Regions from separate parts of the Homo sapiens genome. Here all the other regions are linked to region 3. Evidence: promoter capture Hi-C in 16 types of primary human blood cells and fetal thymus (Javierre and others, 2016). All regions are on one chromosome and are shown on one strand. Each heading gives the region's core, a stretch centred on a gene start or on the middle of the fragment in contact. The rest is flanking DNA. Distances are from core to core; before and after follow the strand shown. Region 1 overlaps SERPINB10 (serpin family B member 10). Region 2 holds the start of SERPINB2 (serpin family B member 2). Region 3 holds the start of SERPINB13 (serpin family B member 13).

Region 1 (3,016 bases), core at 314-2,813, 330 kb before region 3:
TGATGAGTTAATTCTGTTGCCAGGAAGTGGCTTGAAGATTATGAAGTCTAAATTCTGTGGAATTTAAAATCTAATAAAAGGAAAACTTAAATATTTTTGAGGGACCACTGCCTGTCTTAATTCAGGGCTTGTGGACATATAAAAATATGTTTGTCTCTATCTCTGTGTCCCTCTTGTTTCTAAGTGCCCACTGAGTCAATCATGTCTCCTACTTCTGCATCAAACGAGAGTCCATGAGCCTACAAGAAAGGAAACTGTCTTTAAGATTCCATTTGGATGATTTTATGTCTTTAGTAATAACAAAGCTCAATTCCTGAACTCCCCAGAATTCACTAGATTTGAACAGAGATAGCATTGCTTGAAATCACAAGGTAGCTTTATTTTATCTTATTGCTATTCTTCTACCCTATCTAATTTCCTTGCTCTTTGCCCACTGGACACACGGGTCCTCCTGCCCAAAGAGATGTTGGACAATGAAGGAAATTATTGACCTGGGTTGTCATGTGACCCTCTTAACAGAGGACAGAGTCATCATGGTCTGCATTGGTGGGGTTTCAACCCTTAGTAAAGAGGAGAGGTTGATATTATTTCATGTTTCATGTTCCCAAAGTCTGTAAAGTCTTGATGTGAAAACTCCTCACTTCTCTCATCCCAAGGTCAGTTTTGCTCTCAAGTAGACAGTCTCCAGCCAAGTCTCCATATGTATTTGTAGGCCATTCTCAGGGGCTACCTCTTTATTCTAGACAGAAATATCTGATTCCTAGATCTGATTTGAGACCTGTTATTGGTTTCCTTTACCACTAGACACTCATTGGTTGGTCTAATTGATTGTTTGCAGGGAAGTACTGACCACATGAAGATTGTCCCTGGATCCCTAAAGAAATATACAGAGTTTACTGATTGGTCTCACATTGCTCTTTCTTTTCCATTAGCTTAAAATAAGACATTTGCACTTACATTGTGAAATGCATACGTTTTCTCTCCATATATCGCATTGGCTGTTTTAAGTAAGTAGTCATCGTTGGGCTTGAGGATTTCTGAGATAAGTGTTTGGAAATCAGAGTGTATTTCTTCCGAGTTGCTCAAGTTGAATTCCTTTAAAAGAGAAGGAACTAGTCAAATAAAATGTTGAACAAGAGTTACGTACATGTTAGCAAACTAAAGCTAAATAAAATTATTTGGGGAATTGCAAACAAAAGTTGAAAATGTTCCTAAAGTGGATAAAAATGTTTTCTTTAGTGTTAGTGCAAAAGAATGAAATGTTATTGAGGCCATAATTTTCTTCACATTTAGTTTGCAAAAGCAGGCAAGGAAAAGTTTGAAACTAGAGAAATTTTTAGAGAGATTAAAAGGGCGTGGGGACAAGAGATCTTTCAAAAGGTGTAGATATTTTGTATTCCAAAAAAAGTTTCTGTAACTTTAATATATGTTTCTAAGAAAAATTACCTGCTAAAAGTTGCTTCAGTTATCACTAAAATACATGTGCTAAAAGTACTTTTTCCTTAATTATGAAATATATATTAAAGGATAAGATATACCATTTTCCTTTTTTTTTCACTTTCAGGGTCACATTTGACTCCCTGGTCTCTGTTAAATTGAAGCACCTGTAATTTCAATAAAAATACAAATGAATAGACTGCAGAGAAGTAATTATATAAATCATACATCATCTGTAAATACAAGTCAGTCATTCCTATAATTGCAGAACATATAATTAGTTAAACAAAGGGGCTCTGACTTGACTTAATGTGTGTAATAAAATAAGTCAAGAACTGCTCTTAAATAAATTTTCTAAAGTCGAATTTAAGTTGCTAGTCTCTTTATTTTCCTATGTTTTGTAACTAGAATGATGTTAGGAAAACCTTGAGGTAAAATTCTCTTATTTTCCGTATTTCCTTTTTACTCATGGTTGTTTTAAGAAGAATGCTAGGTGTCCAACTGAGACCATCATTTAGACAGTTTAGGTAAAAGCCATAATTATGTGGAAAATTAAGGAATTTTAGTTGTTTTTTTTCTAGTTAAATGCTCAGTTCCTATTGTCTACCACCACTTGACATATTTAGGCGCAATGTTTGTGTTTACCCCAGCATTTCACTGGAAAGTTAACAGGAAAGATGTAGATACTCTTCTTTCCTTGGAATTGTACAACAATAGAACAGAAGGCAATACTTTTATCTGCCAAGTCCTGGACCCGGCTGACAATAAGAAATACGGTATACTGCTTCAACGGTTGCATTGACCCATGTTAACAGAACAAGGGCCACCTGCCATACATAAAGGGGTGCACAGTTAATTCATGAGGCCCATTTGCAACTAAAAGTGTTAACATCCGAAACAAGGACAAGCAACACCCAGCAATATATTTATATGAAATAGATTCACATTGGAATCCACTTAAGATTGTCTATCACATTAATGATTAAGACTTTTGAGCTAATGAACCTGTCATTAACAAGTTGTGAACAAGGATTTTGTTGTTGCTGTTGTTGTTTTTAAACCACCTGATATCTTGTGAACTACAAGAGTAAGGATGTTATCCCAAGTCCAGACTAATATAGCATGTGTTCTGCCCACTTCCCTCAGAATTACCAACCGTGTTCATATCCATACTTTCTGAGGAAGTCACCTTCTTGGGTGAAAATTCTGTCATTTGGCCTTTTGGTTTTGCAAGATTTAGGGCCGAGTTTACTCCTTCTGTTTTTTTTTTTTTTTATTTAAAATCACATTTATATATACATATTGTTGCATATATATATGTATTCATATATATTTTTACACACACATATGGCTATTTTGCTATCTATGACTACATATATATATTTACATACGCACAATGTTTTGAGGATGCTTATTGCAAAAATAGTTCTGTATATAATAGTATTATATTGTTATTGTAATGATCTTAATGGGCTCCTTAGATTCATTCAGATAACCAGGGACTAAACAAAGAGAGAATCAAACAAAGCATGAGAAACAGAATTCTTTTATTTTTCTTTTTTGTGTCTTCAAGAAAATC
Region 2 (2,955 bases), core at 137-2,636, 300 kb before region 3:
AGATTATATCCTGATGCTCAGAAACATTAAGTAACTTGTATAAGGTCACACAGCTGGTAGGTAGTGGAGCAGGGATTCAAGCCCAGGTCTGTCTAAGGAAGCCCACTCTTTCCAATGTTCCACATCGCTTCACTCGGTGGTGCATAGCTTCACTATGAAGTGTAAGAGCTTAAGCAAGTTGTAGTGCAAGAAATGCTAGAAAGAGGAAGTCAAAAGAAAAAAGTAGTAAACCTGTAATTCTACTAGAAGGCTTATTAGGAAGTAAAAACAAAAAGTCACTTTTTTTTTCTCTTGCTTCATCATAGATACTAGATTACATTGGATGGCTCAAAAATTTGTTCCTCTTCCTCTTAAAATTGTCTTCATAATTAAATAGATTTATTGTACAGATTTTTAAAATTAATTATCTCAATATCTTTTGGAAACAAACTGAGTATTAATAACACAAATAAAATATTTCTCGATCCCCATGTGAGAAATGTAAATAAGAGATCAGAGCCACAAACATAAATTTAGACTTCTCCCATACCTAAATACGTGATTCTTTGTAACAATTCATACCGGATTCTTTGTAACAATCCACATAGTAACTTTGATAGTAAAAATATTTAACTCTAAAGACAAACTAACAGAAAGTTCTGTTAATACTAAGTTAGAATTTAAGGTAACTTGATAAAGAAAAAAATTAATAAGAACAGAAGCAAATTTTCCTGGATGCATTTACTTCTTTCAAAAAAGATAGTTTCAATTATATTTTTAAATAAGGTGTAATTAATTACATTTAATGTAAAAATAATATTTGATGTCTGTATGGCAGTCACCAAATTCCTTCAGCTCCCTTTTCAATTTGCATAATTACCTGTCCAGTAAGGCTTAGTAATTTCTGTAATATGAATGAAAATATGAAAATAGAGATTGCACAGCTGGTCCATTTCAGAAGCCTAGACTGGATCACAGACTTCTGATTCCAAGTCTAATGCTTTCCTACAAACTTTTCAAATAAGGTCTGAGAGTTTCATAATTTTAGAAATCTATGAAGGCACCCATATGCAGTGTTTCCTGACTCTCAGATAAGGCCATACTTTATGTTTGAATGAAAATCTTTCAAAACAAGGCAAAATTGAAGTCATGGGGTATTGTGAAATACCACAGCCTCCTGGAACAGGTATACCTGTTGTGAATTTTTTAACATTATAGTAATTTATATGATCTCATTAACTTCCAAATAGTATGCTCTTAATTAAGGTTTAATAGTATTACTGGGATGAATTAATGGGAGTAATATGCAGGGTTGGGCTTCCTGGTGGTGTGTGTGTTGGTTCCTGCAACACAAGTTGACAAATGCACCACTGAAACTTGGCACAGGGAAGGAAGAATTTGGGAGGAGTCACCAGGCACACGGCCATTGTCTCTCACCCTGTTGGCCCTGGATGTTAGATTGGAGTTTGCTGTAGCATTTAAAACAAATTTTGTTTACAATTAGACAGTGGAAATATTTTGAAATTGACCACAAAAATTAATGAGAACTAAGAGAAAACAACAGTTTCAAGGGAATATCTCATCAAATACTGCTACATCTCCCCCAACAGAATTAAAAGCAATTTCTCCTAGTTGATGGCTTTCATAATGAATAAGTATCTTTTTATGGGATATTAAGTTATTTACTGAACCATACTTCAGTCAACCCTGCAACTACTTTGGCTGATTATTCTCTTTCACTAAATTGACCCATTATTGAACTAAACTCAATAAACATATTGTTGTACTAGATTGACCCAGCCCAAATTGCTACTTAATTTTTGCAGTTCCTGCTTTTTCATTTAAGGTGCAAATGAAGTCTTCTTTTCCTATTATTTATATACAATGTAGAGATTACATTCAATTGCTTAAATGAAAATATTTTAATGTATCTAGTTGTTTCCATCAAATTTAGTGTCAAAACAGTAGCTAGTAGAGAACATATATAATCTAATCTGTTCAATAAAATTGGCATCACAATCTGAATGTACATTTTGTTTTGGTTAATGCTACAAAGGTATTTGTTGGCTTCTGAGATTCAAAATTAAACCTTATAAATTTAATTCAAATCTTGAAATAAAATATTTTCAATTCAACAACTAAACAAGAAAACACCACTTAAATTTTACTCGCCCTCTACAAACACCCCACATCCAAATTTTCAATCTATTAATACCAGCATGAGGGAAGAGAAAACATGAAACCCTATTTCCCATAGACATGGCATGGAAATCATTGAAATACCTGGTTGTTCTCTGGTTATTCTCTGAGTTGCTGTCTGACGGGCAATGCTCCTCTGAGAGTTGTTACAGTTCAGACATGGTAATGACTGGTTTTATACAGCTTTGCCCCTCCCACATGGCATTTTTTTTTCTCCCTCTGTCTTTTGATCTGTGTCCTTTGAGTGATTCAACATTTTACTCAGGAAGACATCATTAGAATAGAAATACTTGTTTGTAAAGGCATGGTTTAAGAAATTTTGGGGGAGGATGAGGTCACTCTGAAACTTAAGAATTTGTCAATATCTACACATGCCTGTGAAAGTTAGCTAAAATCTGTCAGCCCCAGTTTCAAGATTTCCCCCACTATACTTGTGCTCAAGGATAGTATCAAATTCTACAATACTTCTTCTAGCTTTGGACAACCATGGCCTGTGGGCTTCTTCCAATATATAAATATAATGAGATTTACTCTCTCTTTTGAGCCTAGGGAGACCCAAGCGATGCTTAGGGCATGGGAGGGAAGAAAAAATCCATTTTCTGTCTTAGAAATTCTCTATTTTAATCTGTCTTACATTGTCTCAAGCTGTAATTTTCGAAATAACTCGGATTCTACCCTAATATCCTGACACAAGAAGAATTTTTCATCTTCTCTTGATTATAAAATAGATCTTATGGCCGGGTGTGGTGGCTCATGCATGTAATCCCAGCACTTTGG
Region 3 (2,890 bases), core at 218-2,717:
CTCCTCGGGTCCCCAGGAGGACCATGCCAATTGCAGTCAAGATGCCCACAGGGGAAAAGAAGATGTTGCCATCATTTGTTTTCTTCAGCTCTTTGAAAAGATCAAACCCAAGTCGAGTGCTGACGGCGCCAAGTGAATCCATGATGATTTTAGCGAGACCTAGAATAGCAAGAACAACAATCAAAACTGAACATTTGAATTACTCTGTGTCAGGGGAATCCTTTCTGCTTCTATTCCTCTTCTTGCATCGATCCGGAATACAGGGATTTCCACCCTTTTGGTGAAAGGTCGCTGCTGCCTGCTTCTCACGTCCTCTCTTGGCCTTCTCTTGCTGGGAGACATCCATCAATCTACTGGAGTCTTCCGTCATCCGGTGGTGCTCAGTTCTTATTTCCCCGCGGAGCAGGGTTAATGTTTTAATGGCTTTATTCTCTTGCTCTCTGTCTGACCCTGCCTGTCTCTGCCTCTCCACAGCCTCCTCTTCATGGAAGCTTCCCCAGGTAGACCCAGCCCTTGTCCAGGCGACACCAGTTTGTCCAGATGTGGGGCCCATGATAAGGCAGGGGGGTAGGCACAAGAATCTCCACGGGCCTCAAGTTCAAACAGTGCTCTCAGATCCAACCTTAGCAATAATTAAGCCGAGACTTGAATCCTTATCTGATACTATTTCTCAATTGATTCAAAATTCAGCCCAGAGAGTGACAGGATTGATTAAATCTCTTAAACCCCTTTCCCTAACTGCATACAAACTTGACTCTGGGCTGAATTTTTCTGAAGCAGAAACCACATATCTCTGGTCATGAATTATTAGGTGGAGATGAAAGGGTTTTCTTTTTTATACTTTTCTGTATTGTTTTAGGCTTGTACATGAGCTTGCATTACTTTTGTCATTTCACAAAAATAGTTTTTAAAGAGCAATTAATATTTGCCAAAAATAAATAGGTAGAACTGTTTTTATGTTTGCTTCATTACCAACTACTTTAAAACTAGTAAGTAAAGGCTTTAGGAGGAATCCTAAAACAAGAATAAGATTAATGAAAAATAAAGTTTTTTAAAGCCCACATACTTTGGGGCCTTTTGCCCTCAAGGGCTCATCCCCGCTAAGGCATCCCACATCTGATATCAAAGCTTTCATTTCAACCTCAGGTTTCCTTGCAGAGATCCTTTACAGGTTAACTCAGAAATAAAATGGATTAATTTACTGTCAAAGAAGATACATTGTCATGGCCATGTTGGAACTGAATTAAATAAAACTACCTCCAGAAAGTCTATGCAAAATAAAAGTAATTCTTTCAAACAACAAACATCATTGTTCTCAAAATACAGAGGTCTTAAATTGGAGCCAAAATAAGAACTTACCTCGGGTTTTTGGAGAGACGGTGGTGGCTGGGCAACGAACTAGGAAGCATAAGTCAATTAAGTAGCTGGGATCCTTAATTTATAGTTCTCCACATCTGCTTCAGCAGTGGTTTTCCACCTTGCGTGCACCTTAAAATCTCCTTGGAACTTTAAAAAAAATCTATGCCCAAGCCCCACCCCAGACCAACTGAGTCAGCATCTCTCGAGTGGAAACCAGGCATCAGAATTTTTATCACCGCAGGTGATTACAATGTACAGCCAACGCTGGGAACCAAAGGTGTATAGCCTGATGAACACATACATTAAATGCATACTTTACTTACCACAGATGGACAGAGCTGTGTCCTGACAAGTCATTCTCTGTAACAGAGTTATTTTTGCATTTGCATTATTTAGGAGTGCCAAATGCCAGGAAGAAAATGAAAGAAAACTATCTTGCTACAAAGGAACAAGAAAAAAGAACAAGAAAAGTTTGGGTAGGCAGCCACACACAAGCGAGCATGCGCACACACACACACGCACACACACATACACACACACACCTATTATTCTCAAGTATTCCATCCATTAATTGTAAAATATCTCATTTTAATTCATTCAATAAACATTTATCAAGTCTATTATGTACCAGGTACTGTGTCTAATGCCAATAATTCATAAGCACTCAATATCCTCACTGATTTCAGGAAAACAACACTACCAAAAAAACTCAATAGGAAATTACACCCCCAGATTCCAGTTTTTCCTGCCAACCCTGGAGCATTTCTACTGGCCCTACCAGTTCATTAAAAGAAACTGTGCTTGGATTAGTCTTAGCTTTAATCTTCAGTAAAGGGCGTGGAGATTTGCCATCGTTGCTGGGCAGCAGCTCCTAGAAGGGTGTCTTAGCTCTTCCTTCTGCCTAGAGGAACACCTCCCTAGATACGCAGGCTCGAAGGGCATATGGGTCATGTGTGTTCCAATCTCCATACTCACAATTTACTTTTTTCAAAATATTTTGATTGCTGCTCTTTAAGCAAACTCAAAGCCACATTTAGTTGATTTGCTTTTTAATAGGCACTGAGAATCTTGCAAATTGAGTAAGGTTTAGAAAGAATTAACACTTAGTGAACCCTGGATGCCAGTGAAATGGAAATGTTAGTTTTTTAAAATGGCATAAAATCTCTGAGTCGGCCATAATGCTTTATGTTTTAATATCCCTATCCATTTATATCTTCTTATTTCTTTCTCTGTGGCCCCTAGACTTCCTGTTCTATTGCCCAGCCATTTCCACAGGCCTTCTGCTTTTTGCTAAAGCTTTTGCTCTACCACCTGCTTTCACCGGGAAACCTGGCATGTCCTGAGGACTACTACATCCCATAGTCTTTTCTGGGAACGGCCACTCATATCTTGGGAAAGCAAAGTCACCATTCCTATTCTCCCTCGCACTCCCTCTTCTTCCAAGTCTTTCTTCCTTCAGTCACCTTCAATGCTCCCCTTTGGAAACTTAGACCATCACGCTGTGCTGCTCTGTCCCCAACCACAGGTCCCT

The links. The method cuts DNA at HindIII sites, captures the fragments that hold promoters and counts their contacts. A CHiCAGO score of 5 or more calls a contact.
Region 1: a fragment that was not itself captured here is called in contact with the fragment with the promoter of SERPINB13 in region 3 in 1 of 17 cell types (M1 macrophages); the score reaches 5.2 in M1 macrophages.
Region 2: a fragment that was not itself captured here is called in contact with the fragment with the promoter of SERPINB13 in region 3 in 2 of 17 cell types (M2 macrophages and M1 macrophages); the score reaches 5.6 in M2 macrophages.

The regions. Positions count from the first base shown.
Region 1 is chr18:63,916,044-63,919,059 of GRCh38, reverse strand. It overlaps SERPINB10 (serpin family B member 10), which reads right to left. Exons shown (of 8, transcript NM_005024.3): 3 at 1,539-1,604; 4 at 958-1,095. Among named protein-coding and RNA genes, the nearest start is that of SERPINB10, 9.6 kb to the right of the region's middle. The HindIII fragment of the contact is 4,705 bases long and covers 1-3,016 here.
Region 2 is chr18:63,887,078-63,890,032 of GRCh38, reverse strand. SERPINB2 (serpin family B member 2) reads right to left here and starts at 2,328. Exons shown (of 8, transcript NM_002575.3): 1 at 2,263-2,328. All of the region lies in intron 2 of LOC124904356 (a long non-coding RNA gene), which reads left to right. The HindIII fragment of the contact is 8,502 bases long and covers 1-2,955 here.
Region 3 is chr18:63,585,920-63,588,809 of GRCh38, reverse strand. SERPINB13 (serpin family B member 13) reads right to left here and starts at 1,467. Exons shown (of 8, transcript NM_012397.4): 1 at 1,360-1,467; 2 at 1-159. The coding sequence starts at 142. RefSeq lists an enhancer at 1-181. The HindIII fragment of the contact is 1,527 bases long and covers 1,131-2,657 here.